Regions from separate parts of the Homo sapiens genome. Here all the other regions are linked to region 4. Evidence: promoter capture Hi-C in 16 types of primary human blood cells and fetal thymus (Javierre and others, 2016). All regions are on one chromosome and are shown on one strand. Each heading gives the region's core, a stretch centred on a gene start or on the middle of the fragment in contact. The rest is flanking DNA. Distances are from core to core; before and after follow the strand shown.

Region 1 (2,710 bases), core at 64-2,563, 1.2 Mb after region 4:
TAGCCAGGTGTGGTAGCGGGCACCTGTAATCCCAGCTACTTGGGAGGCTGAGGCAGGAGAATCACTTGAACCCGGGAGGCAGAGGTCACAGTGAGCCAAGATCGTGCCATTGCACTCCAGTCTGGGCATTAACAGAGAAACTCTGTCTTAAAAAAAAAAAGTAAGAAAAGGAAGGAAGGAAGGGAGGGAGGGAGGGTATTTTGTTTTTCCCCTCAATTTATTGTATGTGTTTTCATGTTGCTTGTGTTCATAATTAGCATTTAAATGACTGCATAATAGGCCGGGCATGGTGGCTCATGCGTATAATCCCAGCACTTTGGGAGGCCGAGGTGGGTAGATCACCTGTCAGTTCGAGACCAGCCTGGCCAACATGGTGAAACCCCGTGTCTACAAAAAATACACAAATTAGCCAGGCGTGGTGACGTGAGCCTGTAGTCCCAACTACACCAGAGGCTGAGGCTGGAGGATAGCTTGAGCCCAGGAGTTCAAGCCCAGGAGTTCGAGGCTGCAGTGAGCCATGATCATGCCATTGCATTCCAGCCTGGGCGACAGTAAGACCTTGTCTCAGGCTGGGCGAGGTGGCTCACACCTGTAATCCCAGCACTTTGGGAGGCCGAGGCGGGCGGATTGCCTGAAGTCAGGAGTTCGAGACCAGTCTGGCCAACATGGTGAAACACCATCTCAACTAAAAATACAAAAAAATTAGCCGGGCGTGGTGGTGTGCGCCTGTAATTCCAGCTACTCGGGAGGTTGAGGCAGGAGAATAGCTTGAACCTGGGAGGCGGAGGTTGCAGTGAGCCGAGATCACACCACTGCACTCCAGCCTGGGCGACAGAGCAAGACTCCGTCTCAAAAAAACAAAAAACAAGAAAAAACCTTGTCTCAAAAAACAACACAAAAACACAAATTTCCTTCTGAAAGGGACTGTTCCAGTTTGCAGTGTGCCCAGCTATTTATGACCATATTATTTTTTAGACTCCGTCTAAAAAAAAAAAAGACTTGTATTTAATGTGATTTAATCGACTGTGCCCATCTCACTGCGGACACTGAGTGCGCAACCTGAGCCTGGAGCAGTTGAGGGAGACGGCAAGACCCCACGCGCCGTGTAACGACCATAACGCGCGTGCACTACAACCTCGCCGCCGGCGTCCAGGCTTCTGTGTTCTATAGCGTGGGAGTAGAGAGCAAACGCCGGCGAGGACGTGACGTTGCACAGGCCTATCATAGTGCCCGAGAATTCGTGGGTGCTCAAGAGGATGGGTGTGGCCTGGCAGCGCAGGCGCACTAGAGGCCTGTAGGGTCGGGGCGCCTGCGCAGTCGCTCTTCCTCAGGCGGCGGCCATGGCGGGACAGGAGGATCCGGTGCAGCGGGAGATTCACCAGGACTGGGCTAACCGGGAGTACATTGAGATAATCACCAGCAGCATCAAGAAAATCGCAGACTTTCTCAACTCGTTCGGTCAGCGGGCCAGCAAGGGGAGGCGGGGAGGAGGGAGGCCGCTGAGGTGGTTGGGCTGGGGCGCCGGGGAGATGCTTTGAGAGGACTCCCGCAGCCTTCGGCTGTTGCGGGTTTTCACTTCCTCCTTCAGGTCCCACCTTCTCCCTCCCGCCCTGACCCTCAGGCTCCCGTAGACAGTCTCTGTAGGGTTATCCTGCCCTACGCTGAGCTCATGGCTTCCTGCCATCCCTCTGGATCCATTCTACAAGTCCTTCTCCTAGACGCGTCAGGCAGCCCCATCCTCGCTCCGTGGTTCTTCTCCTAAGTGGTCTCCCTGCCTCCTTTGTACTCTGCATCCATTCCGGTCCCCACTTTGCACTCAAAGTGAGCATCCGGGACCGTGTCACTCCTCTGTTTCAAGACTGTTGACCGTTCCCCATCTTCAGGATCTGGTCGATACCCTCTAGCGTCGTGCCTTTTAGTTGGACCCGTTGTCAACCACTCCCGTCTTGTCCATTCCTTCCTGTTTCCTGTGTCTGCTGCGGTGAGAGTGGTGGGAGATGAGGTCAGAGGGATGCCAGGATCTTGTAGGACCTTGGAAGTCCTCTCTGTATTGCTAGTATATATAGCTTATGGTAGGTGTTCTGTCTGCTTCTAGCCCATTCCTCAGAGCTAACACAGGTCGGGTGCCTTCAGCAGAAAGATATCTTTACCAGAATCTTTCCTAGGCATGGCCTGCTTGTGACAGCCTTAAATTCTTCCTTATGAACAGCAAGCAAAGCAATCGAGATTCCTACCCCTTCTTCTCCAAGTGTTTAACAGAACTTGGCACTGGTTAGACTTTCTTGTGTAATTACAGGATATAGGGACTAGTGTACTTTGGAAAGATTTTTAAATGAATGATTCTCTAACTAAAGGACTGATGGCCTTAGGAGTACAAAGGTGACAGAGCAAGAGATTGTCAGAAAGCATCAGCGAGAGATGCTAGAGCTCCATATGAGGCCCTCTCTTAAGGCATAGTGGGAGACACAGAATAAGAACCACTTCCTACATTCAAAGAAGTTCTAATCTTGAAGATGAAATAATGACAACTTCAGGACAAAGAAGAGCATCATTTTTGTATTAAAGTATTTTCATACAGGGTGTTTAGGACTATAATCGTGGCTGAGTTCAATGGCTTATGTCTGTAATCCCAGCACTTTGGGAGGCCAAGGTGGGAGGATTGCTTGAGCCCAGGAGTTCAAGACCAGCCTGAGCAACATGACCAGATCCT
Region 2 (2,700 bases), core at 33-2,532, 1.4 Mb after region 4:
TGGGAAAGCAAGACTTGCTGTTAAAAGGCTACAGTATATATTGTGACTACAGGAAGACAATTTGGTTTAAAATCACACTGAGTACATCTCAATATACACATCATAAGGTTCATTCGGATCTAAATAGTGCAGAGAAAAAGGCTATTCTTCTTCAAAAATAAAAATAAAAGCAGCAAGCCATACTGATCCTCATCCAATATGCCAACAGCTCAGATGCTGCCATTAATAAGGAAACAAACCTGTAAGTTACTAAATAAAAAAAAAAATCAACACAATACCATTTATAATATTTCAACACTACCTCAATCTCTGTACAGACAGTGCCAAAGAGAACCTATTTTTGAAATGCTCTTAGTAAACTCAAGCGAGTTTCATTGAGAGAAAAGTCTTCGAGCAGTGCTTTGCAGATCCTGGCATCCTTGGGCCGGATGGCCGTTAGTGTTGCAAACCCAGGAAGCCTTCTCTCCTCCTCTCCCTTCGTCTACGGAGCATGTTGTTAAACCCCTCAGGATGGCAACTCGGTAGCATTTGGCTTCTGCCTGAGCCTCTCACGGTAGTGACATTATTGAACGGAAATAGCAGGCAAAAATCAGAGCATGGCTATCATAAAACATCCAGGATGCAACCCAGGGGAAGTGTCTGTTGGGCCGAGCTGTTTTTATAGCATCTCAGCCACCAGTGTTCTTAAACCATACAAATAGCCAAAGACGTTATCTACAGGTTTGTAAACAAATTACATTCTTCTTTTAGGACATAAATAAGTTAAAATAGAGCAATTTAAGCGGAAACAAGGCAACATGCCGGCAAAGAAACTTTATATATCCATGTATATATATTTATATATATATATATATATCTACCTATCTATATGGACGTATACAGTCTCGGAAAAGTATACGTTGATATAGATACAAAGAAATGGATATAACCTTGTGAGTGTCTATGAAGTTCTTCGGTTCCATTGGTGCAAATCTACTAGGCGAGTTAAGCTCTGCAATTTCAAAAAGTTATTAAATTAATCTATACAACTGAGACCATGCTGTGCAAGCATTTCAAAAACTCACAGACCAGTGGATTGGATAAATAGTCTCAGAAAAGAGTCTGTTTGCAGTTCCCGCCTAAGAAAACAAACAAACAAACAAAAACCCCTCCCCAACCCCCAAAAACCAAACAAGGGGAGGATTGAAAGTGTACAGTACATTCATGCGGGGGACGTGGTGGCTGGGCGGGTGCATGGCTGGTCCATGTCTGGGTGGGAGCCAGGAAGGGCTTGTTTTGGGAAAACCGCTCACTCCCGTAAGCCCCCAGTGGAGATCCCGCCCCTTGCCTTGAAGTGAAAAAGAGTTCAAACAGCATCGCAGCCAGAGAAAGGGTCTGTGGGTGGAAACGTTGGTTTTCTCTCCAGTATTTGGTTTCCGATTGTTGCTCGTTGCTGCTTGGGTGAGTTGGGTGCCTGGATGGATGGGTGCCCGGAAAGCGGGTGGCAGCGGGGTCCATGAGGGCGGGCGGGCAGGCGAGAGGGTCCTCAGCTAAAGCGACGTCTCCAGGCTGTGGATGGGGCTCCCTGGACTTGAAGAGGTAGCTGATTTGCTTGTGTCGGTCGTCAGGTTGATCCCACTGTCGATGGCGCTGTTGTTCTTGTTGAGGGATGACGGCGGGCTCGAGTTCTGCTTGAGCGCGGCATCTTCTTCCAGGTCGGTGTCATCAATGAGGGGGATGTGGGGCTGGGAATCTTCGATCCGGAATTCAGGATGAGCCATGAAGTTATGGATGGAGGTTCGAGATTCAGGCTTTTCTAAACCTTCATAGAGAGAGCTACGGAACGCCTTCACGACGCGGATCTGCAAGGGAAGCACAGGGGTCAGGAGCACTGCCCAGGGACCACAGCCAGGCTCGGGGGGCTCACAGGAGGGGCGGGTGGGAGAAGGGTTAGGGCAAAGCAGGTGGCTGGAATCCATAGTCGCTGGGTGTTATTAGCATTGACAGGATGGGGGAGAGTGAAAAAGGGGGCTCAGGTTATAGGCATCCTTGAGCTGGTTTTTAAAAATCTCTTTGGTTTTGGTAGAAACTAGTGTTAGGACAGGAGGAATCACCAAGCACCATCAAAGAGATGATGGGGAACAGTGGTTAAAGGAAGCACAGTCGACTCCTGCGGGCACCCACACCTAGTGAGAGACTGAGCCTTGTTCACTTTAAAGCAGAGGTTCAACCATGCAGACAGGGAGGAGGACCAGGTGGGAATCAAGTAGGAAAGAGGAGAGGCTATTAAAAAAATTCATCTTAGGAAAACCACACACAGTTAAGAAACCATACAACATGGAACATGTTACGTGTCACAAACAGAAAAGGCACAGAAAGGAGAGACGGTTGGATGAGTTGGGATGAGAGAGACACATGAGGGCCAAACAGAACGGGAACATCAAACCAAAGGCAGCAAAGCAAACCAAAGCCAACCCAGGGCTTTCTGAGGTGCAGAGCAGAGGCAGCCAGAAAGCACATGGGAGCTGGCGGACAGATGACATTCGGGGGCGGGCTGCATGCCACGGGGAGGCCGGGAGCCACATGGCACACACAGACAGACACACGGCTACACTTGGAAGCCTGGACAATGTGAACGGAGGTCGTTTGTACCCAGCGTTTCTTTCCTTCATGCATTTGGGAGGTAAACACTCGAGTATAGACTCAAAGCCCTGGCCGGCC
Region 3 (2,700 bases), core at 187-2,686, 1.8 Mb after region 4:
CTGCTGGCACTGTGGAGAGTTCAGAGATAAGGAAGGCACAGACCCCACCTTCCAGAAGCAAACTATGAGTCTGTACTAGTAGGGTTTGTATTATCCTAACTTGCATTATGATAAATCTCCAATAATGCTCTGGAATGGAGCATTTCCCAACTCACTCGACCATTTGAAGAGCAGAGGCATAGCAGGGGTTATCAATTGTTGAGCCTTACTGCAGGCCAGATATTTTATCTCAGCTGAGCTTGAGGGGCAGCACATTGCAGTGCAGCACTAAGATGTGAGGGGTGCCTCTCATAAAACTCCAAATTTATCTCATTTTTTTTTAAACTTTACGTTCTAGGGTACATGTGCACAATGTGCAGGTTTGTTACATATGTATACATGTGCCATGTTGGTGTGCTGCACCCATTAACTCGTCATTTACATTAGGTATATCTCCTAACGCTATCCCTCCCCCGTCCCACCACCTCACAACAGGCCCCGGTGTGTGATGTTCCCCTTCCTGTGTCCAAGTGTTCTCATTGTTCAATTCCCACCTATGAGTGAGAACATGTGGTGTTTGTTTTTTTGTCCTTGTGACAGTTTGCTGAGAATGATGGTTTCCAGCTTCATCCATGTCCCTACAAAGGACATGAACTCATCCTTTTTTATGGCTGCATAGTATTCCATGGTGTATATGTGCCACATTTTCTTAATCCAGACTACTGCAGCACTATTCACAATAGCAAGGACTTGGAACCAACCCAAATTTATCTCATTCTTATGAACGTCTGCCATTCCACAAGCTGGAAGACAGGGAATAAATGTGAGTCCTGTAGGAAGGCATGAGGTGGGAATGCAGACAGGTAATGTTGTACCACAGGTGAGCTCAATCAAGTTAGAGGCACTCACTCATTTCCCTACCCTCTGAGGCAGATCAAGGAATCCCCTCCAGCAATTTCCCAGACCATTGGCTACATGGTGGTGCTGGGGGAATATTAAAGGAGCAGCAGCATTTTACAAATGCCTGGTTTACAGGTGAGGAGAGGCTTTCAGACTTGTCCAAGGAAACACTGCTGATAAGACGTGGGATTTGAACCCAGATCAGTCTTACTACAAAGTCCAATCTCTTACCTCCTGTGTAGTGTGGTTTCCTAGGGCTGGGGGGGTTAGAGGAAAAGAGTTTCCAAAATACTCCTTTGCAGGATAATAAACCCATGATTCCTTTAAACACCGAAAGCAGGTGCAAGAATACTAAATAAGCCTAGAATATCTCGTACCAGAAAATAAGGAAATGTTCAAGGAAGGACGTTGGCATGTTAAAGTGACAGAGGGGCCAGCTTGAAGGGGCTCCCACTGGCCAAAGCCAGGGAAATTTGAATGTCAAAAGAAATAGTCACAGTAATAGATTATAACCCATTAAATAAAACAAGAATCCACGAATCCTTACCAAGTACATATACGAATGAATGAATGAATGGATGGATGGATGAGTGGGGAGAGGAGAGATCTTTTCCTTACAGTTAGATTGCCAACTGATACATTTAGAAGGTATGACAGAGGCTGGGCACGGTGGCTCATGCCTGTTATCCCAGCACTTTGGGAGGCTGAGGTGGGAAGACTGCTTGAGGACAGGAGTTCAAGACCAGTCTGGGCAACAAAGTGAAACCCTCTCTCTACAAAAAAATAAAATTTAAAAAGTTAGCCAGTTGTGGTGGTATGTGCCTGTAGTCCTAGCTACTTCGGAAGGCTGAGGCAAGAGGATTACTTGCCTAGGAGTTAGAGGCTGCAGTAAGCTATGATTGTGCCACTGCACTCCAGCCTGGGGCAACACAGCGAGACCCTGACTCTAAACAAAAGAAGGAGGAGGAGGAGAAGGAGGAATGATGGAATCAGGAAATCACCATTTGGCAACTGTGTTAGTAACAACTTCATCCAGGCAAAAATCCCCAAAGAATGCTACAACTAAACTTTGATGATGAATGACATCATTCCGAGGTACCTCCCCAAGAAAATACTTATTGCTGACAAAGGGGAAAAGAAGAACTAAGGAAAAAATGGCGGACACCACCTTAATAAGGCGATTGACGTTCCTGCACCAGTAATGCGGCAAAGAGAAATTGTGTGCTACCCACTAGGACGCAATGAGAACACAGCATCATTTCTGTGATGTTCCTACTGAAAACAGGCAACCTGAACCCAATAAGAAAGAAACAGCAGCCAAACTGGAGCTGTGGGACCTCCTGCAACATACGTAGCCTAAAATCTTCAAAAGCATCAAGGTTGTGCAAGTCTATGGAAGACTGAGGAGCTGTTCCAGAATGAGGGAGGCTAGGGGGAAATGACAGCTAAATGCCGTGCAGGATTCGGGACCGAATCCCTTGCTCTGAAAGGCATTATCGGGATAGCTGGTTAAACTTGCCTGGAGTCTGAGGATTAGGTGGTTACAATGCATTGATGTAAATTTCCTGATTTTGGTGCTTGTGGTTAGGTAGAGAATGTCCTCATTTGTAAGAAATATCCACAAAATATTTGGGGGGTGGTGGAGTATCACGTTAGTAACTTACTTTTTTCCCCGCTAAAATGGCTTGGGGGAAATAGCTCTTTTTACTACTGCGGCAGCTTTCTGTAAATTTGAAATTATTATACAAACCCGAAGGTGCTTTTGGGCAGTTTTCTCGCCGTTGTTACCTGATGAAGGTGTTACTCGTGGAAAGGAAAGGA
Region 4 (2,700 bases), core at 140-2,639:
GCACTGCAGTAAGCACAGTGAATACACAGCAGAATCTGTGCCCACATACATCAACTAATTTATTTAATCAATCCTATGAACTGTTATTTTTGTCTCTAATTTATAGTTGAAGAAATTCAGGCTCAGAGAGGTTAAGTTACTAACCGAAGGTCATACAGTCAAGAGGCAGACAGGAGATTTCACCCAGGACCACTGGAACTCAAATCTGTGCTCTTCTCCACTGCATCCTGGTGCCAAGCCCACAACTCCAAAACTACAGCTTTCCTGGATCATTTCACAATGTCAGCTTCTCATCATGCAGATATCTCAAGTCCCCAAGCACTCTAGACGTCACTGATGACAGCAGGAAGAACAAGGCCTTCTACTTACTTTAGCCTTCACTTAATTCTAAAGTCAAATTTATGAGTCAGTGGGACAGGTATTATAATCCCCAAGTCTACAAAACTGAGGGAGAAGAAGGCTATCTTAGCCACTGTGAGAAACGGAAATAATCACAGAGCAAGAAGAAACACCAAGCAACTGATCTTTATCCAGCACAGCAAAGTGCATCTGCTCTTGAGCAAATCCAGGGCCCACCACTACTGTAAATGGAAACTGGTATGCCTTGCCAAAACAGAAAGTGGCCACAAAAATAAATGTTATTTAAGTGAAATAATCAGACGCAATGCAAGATCAGCGCTGAGCCTGAGTCCTGATCTCTGTTTAAGAGACATGAGCAATTGTTAGAGAAGAGTGAAGGTGTGTTAGAGAGGAGTTGGGGCAGTATGTCAGAACAAACGAGCACTACGTTTATTGAGAATAATCAGAAGAAATGAAAGAGCCTGTAAAGGAGACTACCTGCTTGGCTACGTGATTACATACATGTTATCTGATAAAGTGTCCACCCAAAATCATGTCCGGTGTCACTGTTTAGTGCTTGACACAAAGTAAGCTTTCAGTAAAGAACAGCTGTCGATGTCATTGTTTGGAATAACTGTTTTTCTCCATGTTATTGTTGGGATTGGATCGCAGAATAGCTGGTGCCATAAGACTGCCAACCTCAGCTCACCAGGCTTGTCCTTGTCACTTATCAGAGGAGTAAACTGAGACCCAGAGCCACGCGGTCGGCTAGTGGCAGGGCAGAGCCGGATACCCGGGCCCAGTGCGACGCTCGCGCCTCATCCTTTCTCCTTAAGGCGAGGACATCCTCCTCAAAGGGAGGGACCTCCCCCCGCAGACACCCGGGAGCTCCCAAACTCCCCGAAGCACTCACCTTCATGACTGCCAGGCCCGGAGGCCACCGAGACTCGGCCAGGGAGTCCATGGTCGCTCCCGAGGATGCTGGGGGTCAGCCACCCACTAGCCTCCGGCGCTCCAACACCACTCGAAATTCCCCGCGCTACCGCATTACGTCAGCAGCCCGCGACGCGCCAGAGGCGGGCGCGGAGCCTGCCGGAAGTTGTAGTAGTATGTGGGCGGGGCGCCGCTTAAGGGCTTGTACTGCGCATGCGCCAGGCTTCTGCCGCACTTACCTTGAAGAAAGTGAATGGTTAAAAAGCGTAGAGCCAGTTGAATATTAAGAAAAGATAGCCAGGAATCAAACCAAATCCAGACCTCACCAGATCTGTCAAGGTCCAGGCTCATGACCCCCCTCCGGGTCGCCCACCCTAATCGCAGTGACTATCCGTCCTTGCTCTGAACAGAAGTTTTTATATCCATTACTTTATGTCTCCCGTATCACAACACTGGGAGGTAGATGTTATCATTGTCAGTTTACACAAGAGAAGCCTACGCCCGAAAAAGTGGATAGAGTTTCGAGTCAGATTCCAAACAGGACCTCTGGGCTTTAAATGGGAGCTGTTGCTTTTATTCATATTAAAATTTTAATGCACGGTTTTTCTTTTTCTTCGGAGAGAAGCACCATTAACTTTGGCATATAGCCTTCTAGATATTTCCTATGCAGATTGACGAAGATTCTTTGCTTGAGCAAACTTTAGTCAGGCTCCTGAACCTTCTCCTAGGCCAATCTGTGTACTTCCTGTAAAAATCCAGTTTTAGCAAAAAACCCTGCTAAATCAAGTTACCAAGAATCCCCACCTTTGATATGTGATCACTCTTGATATCTGATGTGTTCCTCATCCTCCACCATCCCCCAGTTGATGTCTGATCACCCTGGCCTCTTCAGCAAGAATCTACTGTTACCTCTGATGTTTCCTCTTAGTAATTTTTCATGCACTGCTCCCCACCCTGCTTCCTGGCTATAAATTTCCATTTGCCCATGTTGTATTCAGAGTTGAGCCCAGTTTTCACCAATTGCAAGACACAGTTCCAGTGGTCTCTATACCTACTTGAATTGTCCTGATTAAGTCTTCCTTATTGTGCTTTAACAAGTATCATTGAACAATTTTTTTCTTAAACGAGATATAAATATAGATACTTTTTTTCATACATGTTATATTAAATGCATGAGGAATGGAGGTTTACGGTGTCCACCCCCGCCCCCCACTTTGTATCAGCCAATCATAGAACGGCATGCAAATGAACGCAAATGAATGCCAGGCTGAGCTGGAAAATGTCGGATAGTTCTGGATGTGGAGGAAGTGGGGTCTTGGAGAGACAAAGGAAAAGCATTTAAGACCAGGTCCGTGGCCTGAGTGAACCAGTAATTGTTTTTTTCACACTACTAGTTGGACAAGGTAATTAGGTTTAAGGTGACAAATG
Region 5 (2,784 bases), core at 76-2,575, 1.0 Mb after region 4:
GCAACTACTACGTTATCTTCCGTATCTTTTTTTCACTTATTCTGGGCATATGTGGCCTTTTGTTATTTTCTTTCACTTAGCATGTTTTCAAGGTTCTTCCCTGTTTAACATGATTCAGTATTCCACTCTTATTTATAGCTGAATAACACTCCATTGTATATATTCTACTGTACATACAATGTACATTATATTCCAAAATATTCCATTGTTTATTCATTCATTAGATGATGGACATTTGGGTTATGTCTACTTTTTGATTATTATGAATCATGCTCTGAACACATTCTCACATAAGTTTCTGTGTGGACATACATTTTCAGTTCTCTTGAGTATTTACTTAAGAGTGAAATTACTGGATCATATAGTAACTATGTTTTAACTGTTTGAGGAAAGGCAGAAAAACTGTTTTCCAAAGTGGCTGTACCATCATCAACAATAGGGTTCCAATTTCTCCACATCCTTACCGACACTTGTTATTGTTGATCTTTTTTTTTATTAATTATAACCATCTGAGTGGGCATGAAGTGGTATCTGTTTTTTTTTTTTTTTGAGATGGAGTCTCGCTCTGGCACCCAGGCTGGAGTGCAGTGGCGCAATCTCCGCTCACTGCAACCTCCGCCTCCCAGGTTTAGGCAATTCTCCTGCCTCAGCCTCCTGAGCAGCTGGGACTACAGGCGCCCGCCACCACGCCCGGCTAATTTTTGTATTTTTAGTAGAGATGGGGTTTCACCATGTTGACCAAGCTGATCTTGAACTTCTGACCTTGTGATCCACCCACCTCAGCCTCCCAAAGTGCTGGGATTACAGGCGTGAGCCACCATGCCCAGCCCTCTCACTGTTTTTTAGTTGTTTATTTTTTTGAGACAGAGTGATCTCACTCTGTCACCCAGGGTGGAGTGCAGTGGCGCCATCTTGGCTCACTGCAACCTCTGCATCTGCAATGGTGGATCTCGGCTCACTGCAACCTCTGCCTCCCAGGTTCAAGCAATTCTCATGCCTCAGCCTCCTGAGTAGCTGGGATTACAGGCAGGCACCACTATGCCCAGCTAATTTTTGTATTTTTAGTGGAGATGGCATTTCACCATGTTGGCCAGGCTGGTCTCAAGCTCCTGACCTCAAATGATCTGCCTGTCTCAGCCTCCCAAAGTGCTGGGATTAAGGTGTAAGCCACTGCGCCCAGCCAAATTTTTATTTTTTTATTGTGGTAAAATATATGTAACATAACATACACCACTTTTAACCATTTCAGATGTAAAATTCAGTGGCATTAATGACATTCACAATGTGTACCCATGTCTACTATCATTTCCAAAGTTTTATGTCCCCTTAAACAGAAAATGTGCACAGTAAGCAATTACTCCCCACTGCCCCCCATCCCATCCTCAGTAAACTCTAACCTACTTTCTTGTCTCTGTGAATTTTCCTATTCCAAATATTTTATATGAGTAATATCATGCAATATTAAAGATTTGGGACTTTGACCCATTTGATTTCTTTTTTCAAGACAGGGTCTCGCTCTGTCACCCAAGCTGGTGTGCAGTGGCACAATCACAGCTCATTGCAGCCTCAAACTCCTCAGCTCAAGTGGTCCTCCCATCTATAGGCATGCACCACCACATTTGGCTAATTTGAACCTAATTTTTTTTTTTCTTCTGCACTAACATGCCTGTTGAACCATTTGGACTTAACTTTTGTGCATGGTGTGAAATAGGTGCCCAGCCTCATTCTTTTGCATGTAGATATCCTTTTCCCAGCACCATTCGTTGAATGGAGACTATTCTTTCCCCACTGAATAGTCTTGGTACCCTCTTTGAAAATCAATTGATGATAAATAGATGTGTTTATTTCTGAACTCTCCATTTTATTCCATTGACCTATATCTCTCCTTATGCCAGTTTTTATTACTGTGCAGTTTTGATTACTACAGCTTTGTAATAGGCTTTAAAACCACGGCGTGTAAGTTATTCAATTTTGCCAACATTTTTGCCTATTGTGATTCCCTTGAATTTCCACATGAACTTCACAAGCAGCTTGTCAATTTCTGCAAGAATGGCAAGTAAGATTTTTATAGGGATTGTGTTCAATCTGTGGATAAATTTGGAGTATTGCCATCTTAACAATATTAAGTCTTCCAATCTATGAACATGGATGTCTTTCCATTTATTTAAGTCTTTAATTTCTTTCAGCAATGTTTTGTAATTTTTCAGTATGTCGGTTTAAATCTAACAAAAGGCCATTTCTTTTTTTTTGAGACGAAGTCTCGCTCTGTCACCAGGCTGGAGTCTAGTGGCGTGATCTTGACTCACTGCAACCTCTGCCTCCCGGGTTCAAGTGATTCTCCTGCCTCAGCCTCCCGAGTAGCTGGGACTACAGGCAGGCACCACCATGCACAGCTAATTTTTGTATTTTTAGTAGAGATGGCGTTTCGCCACGTTGGCCAGGATGGTCTTGATCTCTTGACGTTGTGATCTGCCCACCTCAGCCTCCCAAAGTGCTAGGATTACAGGCGTTAACCACCATGCCCGGCCACGGCCATTTCTTTTGTTAGATTTGTTCCTAAATATTTTATTCGTTTTGATACTATTATAAATAAAATTGTTTTCCTTTCATTTCCAATTCTTCATTACCAGTGTATAGAAATACAATTGATGTTGAACTTATTTATTAGCTCTGTTAGTTTTCTTGTGGATTCTTTAGGATGATCTACATACAACACCATGCCATTTGCAAACAGAGATAGTTTTACTTCCTTTCTAATCTGAATGGCTTTTTTATTTCTTTTTC

What was found. The method cuts DNA at HindIII sites, captures the fragments that hold promoters and counts their contacts. A CHiCAGO score of 5 or more calls a contact.
Region 1: a contact is called between the fragment with the promoter of BRK1 here and the fragment with the promoter of RAD18 in region 4, in 1 of 17 cell types (neutrophils). The highest score is 9.8, in neutrophils.
Region 2: a contact is called between a fragment that was not itself captured here and the fragment with the promoter of RAD18 in region 4, in 4 of 17 cell types (total B cells, total CD8 T cells, neutrophils and 1 more). The highest score is 7.7, in total B cells.
Region 3: a contact is called between a fragment that was not itself captured here and the fragment with the promoter of RAD18 in region 4, in 1 of 17 cell types (total B cells). The highest score is 8.2, in total B cells.
Region 5: a fragment that was not itself captured here is called in contact with the fragment with the promoter of RAD18 in region 4 in 1 of 17 cell types (neutrophils); the score reaches 5.2 in neutrophils.

Annotation. Positions count from the first base shown.
Region 1 is chr3:10,114,362-10,117,071 of GRCh38, forward strand. It overlaps BRK1 (BRICK1 subunit of SCAR/WAVE actin nucleating complex), which reads left to right and starts at 1,314. Exons shown (of 3, transcript NM_018462.5): 1 at 1,314-1,458. The coding sequence starts at 1,341. RefSeq lists enhancers at 1,122-1,411, 1,862-1,911. The HindIII fragment of the contact is 6,229 bases long and covers 1-2,710 here.
Region 2 is chr3:10,327,285-10,329,984 of GRCh38, forward strand. ATP2B2 (ATPase plasma membrane Ca2+ transporting 2) reads right to left here. Exons shown (of 23, transcript NM_001001331.4): 23 at 1-1,841. The coding sequence ends at 1,530. Among named protein-coding and RNA genes, the nearest start is that of MIR378B, 1.6 kb to the right of the region's middle. RefSeq lists an enhancer at 1,000-1,548. The HindIII fragment of the contact is 4,701 bases long and covers 1-2,700 here.
Region 3 is chr3:10,735,999-10,738,698 of GRCh38, forward strand. No RefSeq gene overlaps it. Among named protein-coding and RNA genes, the nearest start is that of LINC00606, 27 kb to the right of the region's middle. The HindIII fragment of the contact is 7,718 bases long and covers 1-2,700 here.
Region 4 is chr3:8,962,083-8,964,782 of GRCh38, forward strand. RAD18 (RAD18 E3 ubiquitin protein ligase) reads right to left here and starts at 1,390. Exons shown (of 13, transcript NM_020165.4): 1 at 1,253-1,390. The coding sequence starts at 1,303. RefSeq lists an enhancer at 1,238-1,407. The HindIII fragment of the contact is 5,728 bases long and covers 930-2,700 here.
Region 5 is chr3:9,965,692-9,968,475 of GRCh38, forward strand. All of the region lies in intron 7 of EMC3 (ER membrane protein complex subunit 3), which reads right to left. Among named protein-coding and RNA genes, the nearest start is that of PRRT3, 15 kb to the left of the region's middle. The HindIII fragment of the contact is 3,103 bases long and covers 1-2,784 here.